Regions from separate parts of the Homo sapiens genome. Here all the other regions are linked to region 5. The links are contacts of gene promoters, found by promoter capture Hi-C in blood cells and fetal thymus (Javierre and others, 2016). All regions are on one chromosome and are shown on one strand. The core of a region is centred on a gene start or on the middle of the fragment in contact, and the rest is flanking DNA. Distances in the headings are between cores, read along the strand shown. Region 1 overlaps CLOCK (clock circadian regulator). Region 2 has its middle 7.3 kb from the start of CLOCK. Region 3 holds the start of SRD5A3 (steroid 5 alpha-reductase 3). Region 4 has its middle 98 kb from the start of LINC02358. Region 5 holds the start of REST (RE1 silencing transcription factor). Region 6 has its middle 2.7 kb from the start of TMEM165. Region 7 has its middle 5.0 kb from the start of EXOC1.

Region 1 (2,797 bases), core at 218-2,717, 1.4 Mb after region 5:
AAACTAGTGAGTTAAATATATGCTAGATGGATATTTGTATTGTAGAGAAAACCAAATCAAGGTGTAGGGGATTAGAGTCTATTAGCATGTGAGGATAGAATGGATATCTTAGTTTTGGCTGCTATAACAAAAATACCCAGGAGTATTAGATTCTGCAGTACAACAGCACATAGACTGTGTGCTGTTGAATTTGGTTTGCTAGTATTTTTTTAAGGGTAAAAAAATCAGTATTCATTAGGTTTATTGCTGTAGCTTTCTTTTTTTGTGGTATCTTTGTCTGATTTTGATATCAGGGTAATGCTGGCCTTTTAGAATGAGTTTGGAAATGTTCTCTCACATTTAGTTCTTTGGAAGAGTTTGAGGAGGATTGGCTTGGTGATAGTTGAGAGTAGAATAAGCACTCGTTTCAAGTTTGGTATTGTTGCACTGATGCTCCACTTGACTCGCTGCATATTACAACTGTAATTATTAATTACTTCAGTGCTGTTAATCATAGGGTAGTACAAGCTAGATTAAATGGCAAACAAATGTACAAAACATTTTATTACTATTGGGTTCTTTATACATTAATGTTTTAAGACACAGGCAAAAAGGAAAACATCGAGAGTTTACTGAAAAGCAAAAGTTTTGTAGTGTGTCTTGAATTTAGTAAACAAGTGTCCACTCTCCTGCATCTTAAACAAGCACTTTGTTTTTGTTTTATTTTTTTGAGATGGAGTCTCACTCTGTTGCCCAGGCTGGAGTGTAGTGGCATGATCTTGGATTACTGCAACCTCTGCCTCCCAGGTTCAAGCTGTTCTCCTGCCTCAGCCTCCCGAGTAGCTGGGATTACAGGCGTGTGCCACCATGCCTGGCTAATTTTTGTGCTATTAGTAGAGATGGGATTTCACCATGTTGGCCAAGCTGGTCTCAAACTCTTGACCTCAGGTGATCCACCTGCCTTGGCCTCCCAAAGTGCTGAGATTACAGGCACGAGCCACCATGCCTGGCCTTAAGCACTTTTTCACGGATTTACAAACAATCCCAAAAATCTTTAGTCAGTGATATGGTTTGAATTACTTTCTAGGCAGAAAAATATTCTAATATGTATCTAAAATACTTAATTAAAAAGTGTTGAAAAAATATTCGGAAATCAAAACTTTTAGGTCATCATAAAATAAATTAGTAATATCATATTTTGGCTTCATTCTTTGGCATGTGGATATTCAGTTTTCCCAACACTGTTTGTTGTAGAGACTGTTTTTTCTCCATTGGGTAGTCTTGGCACCCTTGTCGCAAGTCATTTGGTGGCATGTGCGAGCGTTTATTTCTGTTCTGTTCCATTGGTCTGTAGCTCTGTATTTATGTCAGTACCACACTGTCTTGATTACTGTTGCTTTGTAGTGTGTTTTGAAATAAGAAAGTATGAGGCCTCCAAATTTTTGGTGGTTTTTCAAGACTGGTTTGGCTACTTGGGGGTCCCTTGAGATTCTGTATGAATTTTAGGATGGTTTTGTTTCTATTTCTGCAAAAAAAATGTCATTGAGAATTTGACAGGGATTACATTGAATCTATAGATTGCTTTAGGTAGTATGGACATTTTAACAGTATTAACTCTTTCAGTTTAAAAACACGGAATGTTTTTCCATTTATTTGTATTCTCTCTTTGATTTCTTTTAGCGATGTTTTGTAGTTTTCAGAGTACAAGTCTTTTATCTCCTTGGTTAAGTTTATTCCTAGTATTTTTATCCACACTACCCCCCCGACCCGACCCCTTTTCTTTGTTTAAAGAGATAGGGTCTCTGTCACCTAGGCTGGAGTGCAGTGGCACAATCATGGCTCACTGTGACCTTGAACTCCTGGGCTCAAATGATCCTCCTACCTCAGCCTCCCAAGAAGCTGGGACTAAAAGTATATGCTTCCACGCTCGGCTAATTTTTTGGTATTTTTATAGAGAGATAAGGTCTCAAATTCCTGGCTTCAAGCAGTTCTCCCACCTTGGCCTCCCAAAGTGCTAGGATTACAGGTTTGAGCCACCATGGTTTGCCTTTCCTCTTTTGATACTATAGTAAATTGGGATTTTTTTTTTTAAATTTTCCTTTCCAGTTGGTCATTTTTGGTGTATAGAAATGCAACTGATTTTTGTGTGTTGATTTCGGATCCTGAAACTTTGCTGAAATCATGTATTAGTACTAACAGTTTTTTTGTGGATTCTTCTTTAGGGCTTTCTGCATATAAATCATGTCATCTGTATACAGAGATAATTTTCTTTCTTATTTGAGTGCCTTCTATTTATTCTTCTTGCCTAATTGCTCTATCTAGGACTTCTGGTACTGTGTTGAATAGAAGTGATGAGAGTGGGCATCCTCGACTTGCTCCTAATCCTAGGAGAAGTGTTCAGTCTTTTACCATTGAATAGGATGTTAGCTGTGGGATATTCATATATGGTGTTTATTATGTCGAGGTAGTTTCCTTCTATTCTTCATTTATTGAGTGTTTTTATCATGGAAGGGTGTTGAATTTTGTCAAATGCATTTGTTCGTCAATTGGAATCATGTGGTTTTTGTGCTTCATTTTATTAATGTGGTATATTACCCTAATTGATTTTTGTATTGTGAACCATCCTTGAATTTCTGGTATAAATCCCACTTGGTCATGGTATATAATCCTTTTAATGTGCTGTTGAATTTGGTTTGCTGGGGTTTTTTTTGTTTTTGTTTTTGTTTTTTTTAACATTTAAAAAATCACTATTCATTATGGTTATTACCGTGGTTTTCTTTTCTTGTGGTATCTTTGTCTGGTTTTTATATCAGGGTAA
Region 2 (2,826 bases), core at 81-2,580, 1.4 Mb after region 5:
ACACCATGTAAGTTTCTAAATCCTGAGCAGAGGTGAGAAAAATATATTGTAGGATGACTTATATTTTAACAGTAATCACAGAAGAATTCATCATGAGAAAATATACATTAGTACACTGCAGAAGGCCTATAGGATGTTTCGTCTTGGCATAATAATGAACATCACTTTTAGAGGAAAGGTTGGTAAATCCAGCATATAATAGTTCAGTAACAGATTTTTTTCTACTTTGTTTGTATTCATGATCCATAATTCTCATTATGGATGTTCACTGATATTTGTAAGAGAATCTAGACTAGGTTTAAATGCCTAGATTACAAAAATAAATTGGTGAGAATTGAGGCAGTTGAACATTGAGTCAAGAAAAGGCTCTTTCTTGCTATTGGTGGGGGTTTAGGGATCTTAGAGGCTACAGAGAATCATGAAGTGGAAGGAAAGTTAAATACACATTTGAGTAAGGTAATGAGAATTTATTTCACCAGGTGAAATCAATTGATCTAATTCTGGGAAGGATTAGGAAAATTCTTCTGAGATACATCTTGGGACTAGATGGAGGAAAGTTCAGAGAGGTCACACACAGTGGTCTTTATTACAGCATTACACACACTTCAGGTAATTATCTAGTTTTATTTATCCAATTCCTGAACCTTCCAGAAATGGATGGATAAGTTACTATTCAGGATAAAAACAGCCGTGGAAATGAAAGGAAGAGCCATCTTCTAAAGTTACAATGTAACTCTAATGCCTATAATGCATATAACATCTAATGCATATAACCATATTTATCAAAATAACATTCATATACATTATTTTCCCCTCCAATTGAAACCAAATGCAGAAATTCCCCCAAATGTAGTCTTTTAAAAAGTAAATACATATTTGTTTTCTTTTTAAAGTTAAAAGAACAAAGGAAATAATAATAGTATTTAGGAGAGCTTAAAAAAGATATCTATTTCCCTTTGTCTTAACTCAGATCCACCAGGTGGCAGTAAGTTTTTACCCACAAACAGTTCTGGAGACTTTGACATTTGTAAAAATAATAAAATTATATCATGTTAGAACTGACTGCTTGTGATTTCAGCCCCGCTCTTTAGCAAAGTGCACACACACATTCTTTTAGCAAGGACTGATTGATGCCTACCAACACAGGTCACTACTACTTCCATACAGTGCTTCATGTATACATTCTCATTTGACTAGGGTAAAAATATTTGTCAGGATATGCAGAAATTATTTAATATGTAATATTGTTCCCCATTTTACTGAATGAATATTCAATGGGGTACAAAGTTAGTTTTTTTAATTGCCAATATTCAGTCATTTTTTGATCTATAAAAATTGATATTTTATCCTAATATTTTTGTCTATTTTTGCCAAGTGTGCTCTATTGAATCTCCCTTCTCTATAGTGCCTTTTTTGTCAAAATGTGGTAAATGTGGTCCTAGAATCAGCAGCATTCCTAAGGAGCTTGTTAGAAATGCAGAATCTCTGGCCCCATCCCAGACTAACTGAATCATAATTTTCATTTTAATGAGATCTCCAGGTGACACGCACATTAAAATTCGAGAAGCACTACACAGCAAATCCTTTAAAGACAACCTGAGCAACTTCTTTTACCCATCCCACAGTGTGGGTTATTAAGTCTGTCTAGTTGAACACTCCAGTGTCAGTTCCAAGCAAACATTCTCTGGCTGAACTCGTGACTTAAGCAACTCTGAAGATGAAAGGTGGGGTTTTTAACCAGTTTTTCCCTCTCCTTTTGAGGCAGGAGAATAAGGTCTGGAGGCAGGGAACCTAAGGCTGTTTCACTCCAACTTCTTAGAGCCAGATTTAAAGGAAAACCCTAACTTGCCATGCCTAAGTAACAAAAGGACCAGAGGCTACTTTGCAAACCCCCACCTTCTGTGCGTGGCAGATGGGAAATTGGCTGTCTGCAACCAATCACACTGCTTGCTGGCTGAGAGTTCGTTTGCAACTTTGTAACTTCACCTTAGCCTCTGATTGCTTGCTTTTGGCAACCACTCAGACCAATTGCAAGCCACCACTTCATGAAATGAAGTGGCCAATGGGAAGCCTCTAGCGGGTATTTGGACCGGAGAAGATTCTGAGCCACTACTCACGCCGGCTCCCACACTGTGAAGTGTACTTTCATTTTCAATAAATCCCTGCTTTCGTTCTTTAGTTGCTTTATTCTTTCTTTGCGGGGCGTTTTGTCCAATTCTTAGTTCAAAACGCAAAGAACTTGGACACCTTGCAGTCAAGACCCTCTATCAGTAACACTTTCAGGGCCTATCCCTCTAGTGTTGGGGACTGGGAGAGAGAATAGGGATGAAAGGGATAAATTTTCCTTAACTGTACAATGAATACTGCATCCAAATGTTCACTCTTTAATGGGGCACATTGAGTTCTCCTAGAAACTCTGAAACAGCTTCCCAACTGCACAGTCCCTCGATCAACACAGGCGATGGAGCAGTCTTAGCTCTATCTCTGCTAACTCTCTTAGTTTCCTCTCCCAGAAGTAAATCCAGCCTCTTGCTGCTAGAATTTCTTTCCCCCTTCAGGATCAAGATAGTTCAAACCTGGACAGCATTTTCTACGCAGCATCGATTGACCCATGAGAAACTTACACATCCTCGGTATCCTTGCTATACCACATGGTAGATGTTGCAGATTGCTTTATTTCAGCCCACTCCCTGGCCAGCTATTTCTCCAACTCTTTTCCTGTTTCATGTAGGTACAAGGCAATATCAGCAAGTTTGATAGTGAATGAGATGCCACTCTCCCTCCCTCATAGTCACCTAGCTGATTCTGTTGGAGTCTTGTTCACTT
Region 3 (2,861 bases), core at 11-2,510, 1.6 Mb after region 5:
CACGCCACCAAGCCCTGCCAATTTTTTGTATTTTCAGGAGAGACGGAGTCTCACTATATTTCCCAGCCTGGTCTCGAACTCCTGAACTCAAGCGATCCGCCTGCCTCAGCCTCCTAAAGTGCTGGGATTACAGGCGTGAGCCACTGCGCCCGGCCTAAGATGCATCTTAAGGGGCACTGTTCTATTTCTACCATCTCGAATAGTATTTGGCCAACTCTTTCCAGCTATGTCCTGAATTTAAAGTGGAAAAAGGAGAAGAAGAAAATTATAACAGGTCTCTATTTAAAACCTGACGATTTAATCCTTCGCTGAACTGGGTTACAGAATTTTTCGAAAGTCAAATGGAGCTTCGGGACGGGCCTGCCTATGACCTGCACCTTGGGCCACCTTCCCCAGGGGCACCTGCCAAGGTGCAGGTTAGGGCGACTCAGTCCTTTGTCCCCACTGCAAGGGTTGGGAAGAGAAACGGGGGAAGCCGAGGCCGAAGAGCCGGCCTAACTTCATTTCCACAAATGATTCCCGGTGACCTCAAGTTAGAGTATGAGCCACTGGAGTGCAGGGTACGGGAAAAAGGAGAATTTGGGGCAAGGGGCACTTCAATTTGCCGCCTAAATTCGCATGACCAGGCCTAAATTCGGATGCGTTGCCATTTCCCACAGGGAAAGGCTCCGTGCGGCTACCAGTTCACATTCCTCCAGCTGAGTGCAAGCGGCTCCGCTCTCCCTCGGCGTCCGCGGACACCCGGGCACTGCTCCCCGGAGCCACGCAGCAGCCGGGGCATGGCCGGGGCCAGGCCGAGGGAGCGCCGTGCTGCGCCCGGGAACCCGCCAGGGCCTCCCAGGCCGGGTCCCGCCTCTGCTGCCCCCTGCTGGCTGCCCGCGAGCCGGGGCGCCCCGAACTCTCAGCGCCTTGACCACCGCGGCTCGGGACCGGGGCGCGGTTACCTCTTGGGGACATCAAAGGCTCGGCAGGCGGCGGGGCGCGACGGCTCCCCACACTTGGTTTTCCCATAGCGGATCAGGTCCTGGAAGATCGCGCAGCCCGGGAGCAGGCCGGGCGGCAGGAGCTGCAGCAGTAGGGTCAGCAGGAAGGCGGCGGTCAGCGTGAGCCACACCGCGCGCAGCGGGTTCAGCGCCGAGTGCTCGGCCTCCGCCCAGGGAGCCATGGCCCGCGTGCCCGCCTTCCGCGCTGCTGGCGCCCCCACCGCCCGCTAGCCCGCGGAAGAGCGGCCACTAGCGCGCGGCGCACCGGTCTCAGCCTAGCGGGACGTCGGTGACGCGGCGCGGGGCGGGGACGCGCAGAGCCCCTCCCGGACTCGCCGCTCAGCCGCGGAGGTCCTTGGTCCTGGTCGCGCTGGCGCTGGGTGGTCGCTCGCAGTCCCTAATCTGGGCATGGGGATTCTTAGATGGAGCTCCAGAATATGATTCATCAGAAGCAAAGACGCAAAACAGACGAGACCACGTGTCTGCCACTCTTATCAACATTATCTCCAAAGCAAAAAATGGAAACCTTACATGTTGCATTTTAGTTTATTTAGCTAAATTATGATACACTGACATGTTAGAATATCATGCAGTCATTGAGAATTATTATGACGAGTGTAGAAACAGGGAAAGCTGTTTAGGAAACAATATGTGAAGTGAAAAACAAAACCAACCATAAAAATACATAGCTATGATTGCAAACAACTATATTAATATGAATGTGTGTATATATGGATAAAGAAGGCAGATCACACCCAAAAATGAATAATTATGTTAGGATGCTGGAAATGTGTTGGATATGTGTATAATGTAAACATGTAGACAAGTAATTGCACATAATAATAAAAATCATAGTGGTAAAAACTGTGTTTAAAAAACAGCAGTCGCTTACCAATAGGGTTCCAATCCTTAGAAGCAAAGTTTTTAAATTCCATCAGCTGTTTCCTGTAACATTTATCTCAGGTAGTGACAATGCTATTTATTGACTCACTGATTTTAAACAACACTGATTTTATTTACTATAAGTGAAAATCTAGCTCTTTTAAGTATTTAAAAGTCTTTAAAATGTTAATTCTGAAGTATTGTATGCCTACTGTATGACAGGCATCATTTTGGATACTGAGGACAGAGGGGTTTACAAGATAATTGTCACTGCTTATTTGGAGCTTACATTTTTGAGATTGGGTGGTGGGTGAGAAGTGGAAGAGGGGAGAGGTAGCCAACTCATCACCCTTACCCCAATGAGATACCCGATATGTGTGTTGAATAAACATCAGGGTGGGTAGGTTAGTGGGACTTTGGACTGTTAAATGAGCAAGCTTTTAAAGTTTTCTTCTTTGTGCAAAAGACACCTAAGGCTTTACCCGTCCTTTGACAGCCAGGTGATTAAGGATGGTTAAATTGGCATTCTAGCTAGGACAATGAGGCCTTATTGAGTGATCCTGGATCTCTTTTGCGGGAGTCACCCTTTCACTGTTTCTTTCTTTTCTTTTTTTTTTTTTTGAGATGGAGTCTCGCTTTGTCGCCCAGGCTGGAGTGCAGTGGCCTGATCTCTGCTCACTGCAAGCTCTGCCTCCCAGGTTCACACCATTCTCCTACCTCAGCCTCCCGAATAGCTGGGACTACAGGTGCCCCCCCAACCACGCCTGGCTTTTTTTTTTTTTTTTTTTTTGTATTTTTAGTGGAGATGGGGTTTCACTGTGTTAGCCAGGATGGTCTTGATCTCCTGACCTCGTGATCCATCTGCCTCGGCCTCCCAAAGTGCTGGGATTACAAGCATGAGCCAATGCTCCTGGCACCCCTTCACTGTTTCTTTATTTTTCTTAGGTTAACTCTCTGTAAATGCAGCTGGTCTGTCCATGATCTTTTTCTTTTCAG
Region 4 (2,700 bases), core at 7-2,506, 2.0 Mb after region 5:
CCTACTTCATTGAATTTGGCCTTGGCCCTGGCCCTGTGATGTTTTGGCCCATGGAATGTGGGCAGAAGTAACAATGTTCTGGTCTTATAGACCAGCTGAGTCTATAAGAGGCATGGTGAGTTGCTGCCAGTCCTCTTGAGGTTCTATCTTCTGCCATGAGAGAAAAGCATGCCACCAGGCAATTGTCACCCTTTGACCTGAAATCGAGACGTGTAAAGCAGACCTGAAACAGACCCAAGCCTAGAGGCCAGAAAAGCTCAGGCAAGAGCAGCTGGGTACATCTAAACTACAGTGAATGGAAACATGAATACAACATGAATATTCATTATTTCAAGTCATGGAGAATGGGGGAATTATTTGTTATGCAGCATCACAGTAATAGTGGACACCTATGATGTGTTTTTTTTTTAAAAAAAGACAAATTGTCACAACCACTCTTTATGTACAGTATTTCCATTTTACATAAAGGAAAACCAAGGGTCTGAGAGGTTAGAAAACTAGTTTAAATTAATAACTGGTATATCCAGTATTAACATCTAGGTCTGCCTGATTCCAAAGCCTGTTCTCTTTCTACCTCCCTCATGTCATATCCAGAATATTGACACTATGCCACCTATAGAGATCCTTAACTAGCAAAAATTATGCTATTATAGCCAATAACTTTGCATTCTACTTACTAGAGCTAGGCAAGGAATCATTTTGCAAGATGGCATCCAAAATGTCTCTCGGCTCAACTGTCAGTTCCATAAAACGTTCTATTAAGCATAATTCATCCTTCCCTTTCTCCTCTATGCACTCCACACTTCCTGTTATTCAGAGTTGTAAGGTTTTAAAGAGGATTCACATTTCTCCAGGCCGAGATTACCTATGGCTGCAATAGAATTTGACTTGCATTTTGTTTGTTGTCAATACAATAAGCCAGAAACAGATGCAGATCATTGAACTGAAGAATGACTTTTCTCTCTTGATGGCACTTTGAGCAGAAAAAACATCTTTGTCTGATGTATTGTTAAATGAAAAAAAAAAAGCAAAGTGCAGAACAATGTGTATTGTACATCATTTGCATATTTTAAAAGCATATATATGTGTATGTATGAATGTTTATATCTACATAGGATGTCTCTGGAAGAATACTCTAGAAATATAATGGCAGTTGCCTCTGGTTTGGGAACATGGTGGCTGATGGGGAGTGAGGGTGGGAGAGAGAATGATTTTTCACTGAATAGTCCTTTAAAGTTTTTTAAATTGGTGTTCAGGTTTATATTATTCCCCAAAATAATGAATACATTTTTTAAAGACAGAAACTACTTCTTCTACGGCCTATCCCTCTTCACTTTATTTAAGCTGTGTCTATTGTGTCTCAGACACACTGACTTTTTGAAGGGACTTGAGAGGAGGAGCTAGCCCAAGAGGAAGAGGCCCTTTCTGGCATGTTCTCTTCCTCTTGATAGTTGAGGTGCATATAAACATCTTCAAAGTCTCCACGGACAACAGAGACAACACGAACTGGAGCCCACTGGCTCCCACAAGTGAAAGTGATTTTCTTCATTCATGACTCAAAGGCTGTAGAGTAAAAAACAAGAACTGATCAGCTGTTTTTTTGTTTTGTTTTGTTTTTTTTTTTTTTTTTTGAGACGGAGTCTCGCTCTGTCGCCCAGGCTGGAGTGCAGTGGCGGGATCTCGGCTCACTGCAAGCTCCGCCTCCCGGGTTCACGCCATTCTCCTGCCTCAGCCTCCCAAGTAGCTGGGACTACAGGCGCCCGCCACTACGCCCGGCTAATTTTTTGTATTTTTAGTAGAGACGGGGTTTCACCGTTTTAGCCGGGATGGTCTCGATCTCCTGACTGTTTTGTTTTTAAAGACCAAACACGTCATCTTATCTTGTTCTGAGTGAGACAGCTACATGATGAACATCCTAAAAGTTGAAGACCTTGGATTTCCACCTGCAAGCCAACGATGTTTTTCTGTTAAATTCTAATCATATTATTAGAGTTTATTAATTGTTTTAACAAACAGACATCTATGTCCATTCATTTTTTTTCAAAGACAGGGTAAATAAATCAACTTTCAAATCATGTCCTTCTGCAAACACCAGCTGCACAGGAAAAGGAAGGCCGCCTGTTAGCAGCCTCTCGCTGAAGGGCTAGGCTGAGGCTGTCGGTGTGCATGCCCAGAGCAGAGCTGTCTGTTAATGAGTCCTACAGCTCACAGGAAAGAACCTCAGCGGAAAGCAAGAAGGCAGAACAATTGTGTGAACTTAGCTCCCTTTCTTATTCTCCAAACATCTGGCCACTGTATGTGTCATTTCTTTGATTCAAACTTGTTCTGGCGTTATTGATAGGGAAAATCTCCACCTGGGGGCTGGAAGGGACTGCTTCTTCATCAAAGAATAGTTAGCACAGACTCACTTTTAATAGCAAAATAATAGAGCAAGTCACTTATAAACCATGTTTCTGAAATTGCCCAGCCATGCTCTGCCAACTCTTTATGGGGAGAATAAGACAAAAGCTGGAAGCAAAGAGAGAGTAAAGAAAGCCCTTACGATTAGGGGTGAAGAAAAAACAAAGCCTGCAAGACGCCATCTTGGTGTTGGCTAACGATGGGGAAAATCTCTGCTGTTTAATATAGTGCATTTATAAACACAGATGTCAGGGACGGCAAGTTTATTTTTGTAGTTCTGCATCTTACATTTCCTCAATT
Region 5 (2,700 bases), core at 24-2,523:
GCGCTCTCCAACACTAAAACGGGGGAGGGGATCAAGCTCGAGGCGCTGTTTGGCCGGAACCAGTCCTCCCCGAGTCCAGGCAGCCCCCTCCCCAGCCCTAGGGCCCCCGTCCCGGGAGAGGACGGAAAGTTACCGCGCAGCCGGCGTCCGGGCTTCTCCGACCGCCCCCGGGCCCCTCCGACCGCCCCGGGGCTCGCCCAACGCCCAGGGCCGGGGAGGCTCCGCGGGCGCCCTCGCGAGGCGTCGGGCTCCGAGCGCCGGAGGGGGCCCCCACACGGGCCAGCCGCCACCCCCGCGCCCCGGAAGTTTGCGAACTTCACTCCCCCACGGCGCCCGGCAGGACGCGCGCCCCAGCCCCGCCAGCTCCAGCGGTCGGGTGGCCGGACGCGGGGGCCAGCGGCGCCGGACGGCTGAAGCGCAGAAATCGCTGTCCAGCCCCGCAGGCGGAACCGCCCGGGCCCCGGGGCTGACTCAACCCGCCCGGCCGCACTCAACGGCGCCTTCCGGCGACAGGGAGAGGCCCTGGGGGAGGGGGCCAGGAGGGCCGCGGGCCGGCGCGGGGCTGCGGTGGGACCCGGGGGCAGGAGGAGGAAGCAGAGGAAGTTTCAGGACTACGGGCCCGAGCAGCTCCGCTCCTTGGCCTCAAAGGACCTGACTCGGTGGAGCGTCCGGGCCAGCGCGGAGGCGGCGTCCCAGCCTCCAGTGGGGAGGGGGTCCAGGCGACGCGCTGCTCCCAACAAACGCCCCCAGCCCCCGGGCGGCTGCTGTGTAACCCGATCCTGCTCGGCCGCCAGCCCCCGCCCGGCGGGGCCGCCGCCGCCGGAGCCACAGTATCTGCAAATCAGCCCTGGACAGCGCCTGACTCCGCGTCCTTCCGCGCCCTCCCCGTCCCGCCACTGCCGCCGCCCGGGCGGCCCTCCCCCACCCTGACCGAGCCCCCAGCCCAGCGCCCCACTTACCGGCCTTCCTCGGTGAGGAGGGGCGGGCGACCCTGAGTCGCCGCTCCTTCTCCGACTACTTTTCTTTGTTGCTGGAGTTTCGGGGGAGAGGTGGGGGAGGGTGGTAAAGTTGGGTGCTGGGGCCGTCGTGGACCAAGAAGGCCCAGGAGTGGGGCTGCAGAGGGTGCTCAGGCCTCCGGGCCTCGCCCTGCCGTCTCGGCTGCGGCAGCCGCCGCCAGGGTCTGGGGCCCCGGGCCTCGGCGGCGCTCGCTCCGCTGCTGCGCCGCGAGCTCGCGGCAGCCGCACATTCCAACACAGGACGCTGCGCCGCGCACCCAGTCCGCGCCGCCGCCGCCGCCACCGCCCGCGGGACACGCCCCCTCCGACGCCCGCGCGCGCCCGCGAGACACGCCCCCTCCGACGCCCGCGCGCGTGGCCGCTAGGCGCGCCCCGCCCCTCTACCAAGCAAGGAGTGCCCCAGTCTCCAGCTCGCCTGGGGGCGCGTCTAGGGGGAGCCGCCCGTAATCCTCCCGGCCCCTCACTCCTGCCCTTAGGTCAGAAAAGAGGCGGGCCCCACTCCCTTTCTCGATTTCTATTACAAACAAACAACAAAAGTTCCCCCCAGCCCTGGCGTGCATGCATGAGAATAGAGCTGTTAAAAGAAGAATCCGCAGGCTTTGACGGGTCTCTTTAGAGCTATTGTCACCGGCCTCTCAAGTCTAAAGCGCTCCAAGATACCCTTCAGATCTCTTCAAGTCTCCACCCATAGCTGTCCTTGACTAATTAAGCTTCGTTTTAAGCGTCTGCGGTAAAAAAAAAAAAAAAAAAAAAAAGTCTTCCAAATTTCAAACTACCGGAGGGGGAATGCAGTCAGTTTGGGAGAAGTGAGAAGAAAACGTTTCAGGAAGGAGGTTATGGACTCAGAAAGCGTGAGCGTGAGGACTGAGGGGACAGATCCCTAGACGTGGCAGGTAGCAGGTCATTGCTGAGCCCGGAAAGCACGACTGCAGGGGAGGAATTACCCTCAGATGACAGAAGAAAAGGTGGTGAGGACGGGGAGGCTGCCTGGGGCCACGGTGTGTCGGAGTAACCGGGCTCACGTCTATGAAGCGGGATAACCAAGCGGAATGCCTAGCCCATAGTCATGTGCTAACAAAAACAAAAACAACAAAAAAGAACAGAGAGAGAGTAATTCCACCCCCTTTCACACCTGAAAGAGCTTCTCAGTCTGCCTTTGATACCTTCCTAAACGTCAGTCGTAAGTCACACCTGTCCTCAGAAGCATAGTGGCTCCCCATGACTACAAGCTTAAAGCTTAAACCCCTTAGTGTGGCGTTCAAGCCCCTACTTAACTTGACCTAGATAAGTCTGACTATTGCTTGGTATTACAACATAAGTAGCAAGTGCTATGGGGGTTTGCCAGTAGGAAGATGGATCCCAAGAGGTTCTAGAAACTTTTCACAGTAGATGTATTCAGTCTGACCTTGGAGAATGAGGAAAACTTCAACAGGTGGAAAGTAGGGCAAGGAACACTCTACACAGTGAAAAGGGCAAGCTCAAAATCCCAAAGCAGTTGTTAAGACATCCCAGCTTCTCCTCAGGGTACCTCACTTCCTTCTCTTTGAAGTTCCTTTATTTGTTTCTCTTAGGGCAGGGCTTCCAGACTCTTCATTTCCTGGTATACCCACGTAGGACCTCTGTTTCCCTCTATCTGGACAATATATTACTAATTAATGCAGTCTCCGATGCAAGATGAAATGAA
Region 6 (2,859 bases), core at 60-2,559, 1.5 Mb after region 5:
CATACGCGGCTAACTTTGTAATTTTAGTAGAGATGGGGTTTCTCCATGTTGGTCAGGCTGGTCTCGAACTCCAGACCTCAGGTGATCTGCCGGCCTCGTCCTCTCAAAGTGCTGGGATTACAGGTGTGAGCCACCGCGGCCGGCCTCCGTCCATGTTATTCTGTCCGTAATTCCCCTTCTTCCATTCTCTCCTTGTAAACTCCTACTCATACTTCCAAAACCTATTCAAGCTTCCACTCTCAGAACTTTTCCCCAACACATGGCGTTACAGAATTTGTCACTTGTTCCTTCATGTTATTGCTTTATGCATTCTTCTATTACTGTGTAAGTAGGATGCCTCCACTTACAGTTTGGGGTGTGTTAAAAGAAAAACCTTAGACAAATTAAACTTAACAGCGTTTAATCAAGCAAAGAACCCAAAGAATGATCTGCAAATCAAAAAGACCCCAAATCAAAGTAAGTTCAGAGAGGCTCCAGTCTTGCCGAGTGGTCGGAAAAAATAAAGTGACTTACAGAAAACATAATTGAGGGACAGAAACAGCTGGATTGGTTGTAGCTCAGGTTTGCCCTATTTGAACACGGTTTGAACAGTTGGCCACTTGTGATTGGCCAGAACTCTGTGATTGGTACAAGAATAGGTTACAGTCTGTTTACATACCCAATTAGGCTACAGTTCACCATGTATGGGGAAACCTTTAGGCCTAACTTAAAATATGTAAGGAGGCAGCTTTACACTAAATTTAACAGATGCAACTATCATCCCTGGAGTGCAAATGTTTGAGCTTTCAGAAGCCAGTAATAACATAAAACCCAGAAGCCCAAACTTCAACTACCTCCCCTTAATGCATACAGGATTTGCTGTGCTTAAAAGGGGCCTGAAAGGGAGGCTTGAGGTCCCAAGGGAGGGACCTGAAAGGAGCAGCTTAGGCTGAAGACAGAGCCAGAAGGGTGAATGTAGCAAAACTGGCTGTGTGTCCCTCATTGCTGAAAGCTGCTTTGTTTATTTTCTAGGATGGGCTGCCCACACTCCAGGGCTTTCTCACAGGAAGGACTCCTGGCCAAATTCAGTCATCTCAACATATGAGGCAGTGAGGACTTCTGGGCTACAGCTGCAGGATGCTGAAGCACCAGCTGCTGAGCATGCAGTGGTTCAGGGGCAAGGCAGCAAAGCTATTTGGCAGAAGATGTAACATAAATGGAGATAGAGCATTGGCGAACTGGCACAGTGGTGTCAGCAAAGCATCAGAATCTGGGCCAGAGTGAGACCTTTCTAGCCTGCCCCAGTGTCACCCTGATCCAAGGGCCTTCAGGTGCTGCCAGGCTAGGCTCTAGGTGTCTGATTCTCATGGGATCTGGTATTTCTGTTTCCACACACATCTACCTCCTGGGATCCGTGCTCAGGCGTGCTAAATCGAGGCTGGCTCCAGTTTTCACCACCTTGAGGGTTTAGAGCCATCATCCTTCTAGTCCTCATTGGTGACTAACTCCCTTAAAAAAAGCAATTAAAAAACTATAGGAGCTTTCCTGATACCTTTCTTGAAGGACAACTGAAGCTACTTATTTAACCCCCTACCCAATAAGGATGTGGGTGGCGCAACAATTCCAAGATGATATATTTTTTAATCATAGCCTACACCGATATAGTCTTACTAAAATGTAACCACTGTCAGGCATCCTATGGAAAGAAACCCTACTACATGTGCATTACATTGTATTTTATTTAATTAATTTATTTATTTATTTTTGAGGTGGAGTCTCGCTCTGTTGCCCAGGCTGGAATGCAGTGGCAAGATCTCGGCTCACTGCAGCCTCCGCCTCCCGGGTTCAAGCAATTCTCCTGCCTCAGCCTCCTGAGTAGCTGGGATTACAGGCATGTGCTACACGCCCCACTAATTTTTTGTATTTTTAGTAGAGACGGGTTTACCATGTTAGCCAGGATGGTCTTGATCTCCTGACCTCGTGATCCGTCCGCCTTGGCCTCCCAAAAGTGCTGGGATTATAGGCATGAGCCACTGTGCCTGACCTATATTTTATTTTTTATTTATTTATGTAGAGATGGAGTCTCGCTCTGTCACCCAGGCTGGAGTGCAGTGGTGCGATCTCAGCTCACTGCAACCTCTACCTCCCAGGTTCAAGCGATTCTCCTGCCGCAGCCTCCAAAGTAGCTGGGACTATAGGCGCCCGCCACCATGCCTGGCTAATTTTTGTATTTTTAGTAGAGACAGGGTTTCACCATGTTAGCAAGGCAGGTCTCGAACTCCTGACCTCAAGTAATCCATCCACCTCGGCCTCCCAAAGTGCTGGGATTGCAGGTGTGAGCCACTGAGCCGGGCCTGCACTGTATTTTAATGTCTTTTATTCCAACACCCTTACTAAGCCTTAAGCTTCTAGATGGTAAGGTTATGCCTTTTATCTTTATATTTCTAGCACCTAGTAGATTATATAAGAAGGTAATGGGAATAGTTATCATTAAAGTAGTAGTAAAACTTTATTGAATGCTATTCTGATCCAGTCAGAGCACTAAGTGTGTTACATGAATTATTTCTATCCTCCTTTTTGCAAATGAGAAATCTGAGACTTAGGTCAAGGAACTTTCCTCAAATTACACAGCTAGTAAGTAGCAGAATTATGCCTCATACCTGTTTGTTGAATTCACCTATGCTCCACTTACTGAAAATCTACTTTATGAAAATTTAAATATATAAGACCAGCCAATTAATTAATGGTGAACATTTTCATTAACTGTTAGAGAATGCTGTTTCTCCACTCTAGGGTTCTATTGAAAAGGACTATTTCCTGCTGGGTGCGGTGGCTCATGCCTGTAATCCCAGCACTTTGGGAGGCCGAGGCGGGCGGATC
Region 7 (2,804 bases), core at 102-2,601, 1.1 Mb after region 5:
TGTAACAAACGCTGAGCAGGGCTTCAGGAGCTGTAAACGTTCACCCCTATACGCTGCCGTGGAGTCCGAGCCCCACAACCTGCCCTTCTGCATGCTCCCCCTAGAGGTTTGAGCAGTGGGGCACTGAAGAAGTGAGTGACACCCCCATCGCATGCCCTGCGATGGGGATAAGGGAATTTTCCTGTTTCGGAATCACACAGACCAGGGGTTCAAATCTGGTCTTTACCCTTTACTGAGTCAGTGACCACAGGGCAAGTTACTTAACTCTTCAGAGCCTCAATTTTCTCATCTGTATATAAAAAATAGTAATCCCATCTTGGGCATATTTGCTAAGATGTTTCTTGTAAAGCACTTGTCTCATTGCTTGGCACACAGTATAAGCATTCAATAAATGGTAGCTGTTATTACATGCAGATTGGTTTAGTAGATTAAATTGGGCAGATTTACCTACTTGAAAAACATGTAATAGTCACCCAAGGAGGTTCTGCCCAAGGAGGTTCTGAGGTCCCGCTTCCTTTACATAGAAAGAAGGCTGTATATATTAACATGTATCACATATGAGGGAATCTCATACTTACATAGCATGAAATAACTTTTCCATTGTTAGTAAGCTCCAAGGGAAAAGTCTCTTCTAAATGGTGAAGAGTAGTAAATATTGATGATTTATAGAAGTTAATTGTTTCCTCAGAGAAATCGCTCTTGTTACTGTGCACCAGTAAAGCAGAGGCCTGAAGATTGTAAAGACTTCATGTTCTTCTCAAGACCTGAATCCATTTTGCACCTTTTGAAGGGGGAGGGAGACCATCCTTTTCCTCAGCTTGAACCCCTGAAGGAGGAAGGGCAAAAGTGCCCCACTCCCTCTAGGGCTGTCTCTGATGACATCGGTGGTAGCTCCACTGGCTTTGAGGACATTGTTTAGTGAGAAAACTCATAGATTTCATGGAAGTGGACTTTCATATTTCATATTTGGATGCCTCTTTTACTGGCATCCAAACTGTCTTTTGATATCAGTCTGATTAATTTTAATTTGGGTATAAAGCTAAGGGATCTTCAAATGTTTAAAATGTTCAAATGTTTAAAATCATGTAGATTTATATAATTTCAATTTGAAATGTGACATTTTAAACATTTGACATTTATTATGACACTTACTTTGATTTTTCTCTTCCCTATTTCTTAGCATTGTTTTCTTATAATTTAATGATGCATGTTCCTGTCTAAGAAAGGAAGAACTTTTTTTCAGAGATGTAAGACTATTAGTATCAACACAAAGAACACCAAGTAACTCTTTGTGGGGGTGGGGGGTGGACAATGAGAGTTACAATGCTGCACTTCCCAGATTCTTTATTTTCTTTTTCGTTCTGTTTTTTCTGGAGACAGTCTTGCTCTGTCACCCAGGCTGGAGTGCAATGGCGTTAGCTCACTGCAACCTCTGCCTCCCAGGTTCAAGCGATTCTTCTGCCTCAACCTCCTAAGTAGCTGGGACTACAAGCACATGCCACCATGCCTGGGTGATCTTTTGTATTTTTAGTAGAGATGGGGTTTAGTAGAGATGGGGTTTTGCCATGTTGCCCAGGCTGGTCTCAAACTCCTGGGCTCAAGTGATCTGCCCACCTAGGCCCAGATTCTTTATTTTCTAAATATCTTTAACAACTGCAGCAAGGAAGAAATGTCTCTACTGTTAAATACATAAAGCAATTGGTGTTTGTTTTAGGTTTTGTTAGAAATAGATGTAAATATCCCCACGTGATACTTTCCATTTCTTTGTAGCTTTATGGGAGGAAGTCAGGGAGTCACTAAATAAGGATGGTAATTACCTGTATCAATATTAATTAAGTAAATATTATAAATAAATATTAGTTAGATAGTAGATGCACATTTGACATCATTATTGGAAAGTAATATAATGTGACATACAAATAAATATAAGGAAGGCAAAGATTGGCTTGCAGAATCACATTGCGTCTCAATGCTTTTCTTATGCAGCTGCCTTATTTAATATACATATTGTAGAGTGATATTACAATAAAGGGCAGTCATTACAAATGCACAGTGCTGAACTCCGTATACACATTCTAGGAGATTCTCTCAGAAGTGCAGAAATCATCTCTTTTTTTTTAATTTTTTTATTTTTTATTATTATTATACTTTAAGTTTTAGGGTACATGTGCACATTGTGCAGGTTAGTTACATATGTATACATGTGCCATGCTGGTGTGCTGCACCCACTAACTAGTCATTTAACTTTAGGTATATCTCCTAATGCTCTCCCTCCCCCCTCCCCCCACCCCACAACAGTCCCCAGAGTGTGATGTTCCCCTTCCTGTGTCCATGTGTTCTCATTGTTCAATTCCCATCTATGAGTGAGAACATGCGGTGTTTGGTTTTTTGTCCTTGAGATAGTTTACTCAGAATGATGATTTCCAATTTCATCCATGTCCCTACAAAGGACATGAACTCATCATTTTGTATGGCTGCATAGTATTCCATGGTGTATATGTGCCACATTTTCTTAATCCAGTCTATCATTGTTGGACATTTGGGTTGGTTCCAAGTCTTTGCTATTGGGAATAGTGCCGCAATAAACATACGTGTGCATGTGTCTTTATAGCAGCATGATTTATAGTCCTTTGGGTATATACCCAGTAATGGGATGGCTGGGTCAAATGGTATTTCTAGTTCTAGATCCCTGAGGAATCGCCACACTGACTTCCACAATGGTTGAACTAGTTTACAGTCCCACCAACAGTGTAAAAGTGTTCCTATTTCTCCACATCCTCTCCAGCACCTGTTGTTTCCTGACT

What was found. The method cuts DNA at HindIII sites, captures the fragments that hold promoters and counts their contacts. A CHiCAGO score of 5 or more calls a contact.
Region 1: a fragment that was not itself captured here is called in contact with the fragment with the promoter of REST in region 5 in 1 of 17 cell types (non-activated CD4 T cells); the score reaches 5.1 in non-activated CD4 T cells.
Region 2: a contact is called between a fragment that was not itself captured here and the fragment with the promoter of REST in region 5, in 5 of 17 cell types (naive CD8 T cells, non-activated CD4 T cells, activated CD4 T cells and 2 more). The highest score is 8.2, in naive CD8 T cells.
Region 3: a contact is called between the fragment with the promoter of SRD5A3 here and the fragment with the promoter of REST in region 5, in 5 of 17 cell types (fetal thymus, activated CD4 T cells, total CD8 T cells and 2 more). The highest score is 11.4, in fetal thymus.
Region 4: a fragment that was not itself captured here is called in contact with the fragment with the promoter of REST in region 5 in 1 of 17 cell types (fetal thymus); the score reaches 5.6 in fetal thymus.
Region 6: a fragment that was not itself captured here is called in contact with the fragment with the promoter of REST in region 5 in 1 of 17 cell types (naive CD8 T cells); the score reaches 9.9 in naive CD8 T cells.
Region 7: a fragment that was not itself captured here is called in contact with the fragment with the promoter of REST in region 5 in 8 of 17 cell types (total B cells, fetal thymus, non-activated CD4 T cells and 5 more); the score reaches 10.2 in total B cells.

Annotation. Positions count from the first base shown.
Region 1 is chr4:55,531,815-55,534,611 of GRCh38, reverse strand. All of the region lies in intron 1 of CLOCK (clock circadian regulator), which reads left to right. Among named protein-coding and RNA genes, the nearest start is that of CLOCK, 14 kb to the left of the region's middle. The HindIII fragment of the contact is 5,837 bases long and covers 1-2,797 here.
Region 2 is chr4:55,552,814-55,555,639 of GRCh38, reverse strand. No RefSeq gene overlaps it. Among named protein-coding and RNA genes, the nearest start is that of CLOCK, 7.3 kb to the right of the region's middle. The HindIII fragment of the contact is 8,802 bases long and covers 1-2,826 here.
Region 3 is chr4:55,344,641-55,347,501 of GRCh38, reverse strand. It overlaps SRD5A3 (steroid 5 alpha-reductase 3), which reads right to left and starts at 1,260. Exons shown (of 5, transcript NM_024592.5): 1 at 945-1,260. The coding sequence starts at 1,165. RefSeq lists silencers at 678-947, 1,158-1,327 and an enhancer at 779-1,539. The HindIII fragment of the contact is 3,550 bases long and covers 1-2,304 here.
Region 4 is chr4:54,941,665-54,944,364 of GRCh38, reverse strand. No RefSeq gene overlaps it. Among named protein-coding and RNA genes, the nearest start is that of LINC02358, 98 kb to the right of the region's middle. The HindIII fragment of the contact is 4,216 bases long and covers 1-2,700 here.
Region 5 is chr4:56,906,473-56,909,172 of GRCh38, reverse strand. REST (RE1 silencing transcription factor) reads right to left here and starts at 1,273. Exons shown (of 4, transcript NM_005612.5): 1 at 960-1,273. RefSeq lists silencers at 47-896, 1,007-1,396, 1,496-1,790 and an enhancer at 887-1,816. The HindIII fragment of the contact is 2,443 bases long and covers 1-1,728 here.
Region 6 is chr4:55,391,868-55,394,726 of GRCh38, reverse strand. No RefSeq gene overlaps it. Among named protein-coding and RNA genes, the nearest start is that of TMEM165, 2.7 kb to the left of the region's middle. The HindIII fragment of the contact is 2,154 bases long and covers 233-2,386 here.
Region 7 is chr4:55,847,220-55,850,023 of GRCh38, reverse strand. No RefSeq gene overlaps it. Among named protein-coding and RNA genes, the nearest start is that of EXOC1, 5.0 kb to the left of the region's middle. The HindIII fragment of the contact is 6,305 bases long and covers 1-2,804 here.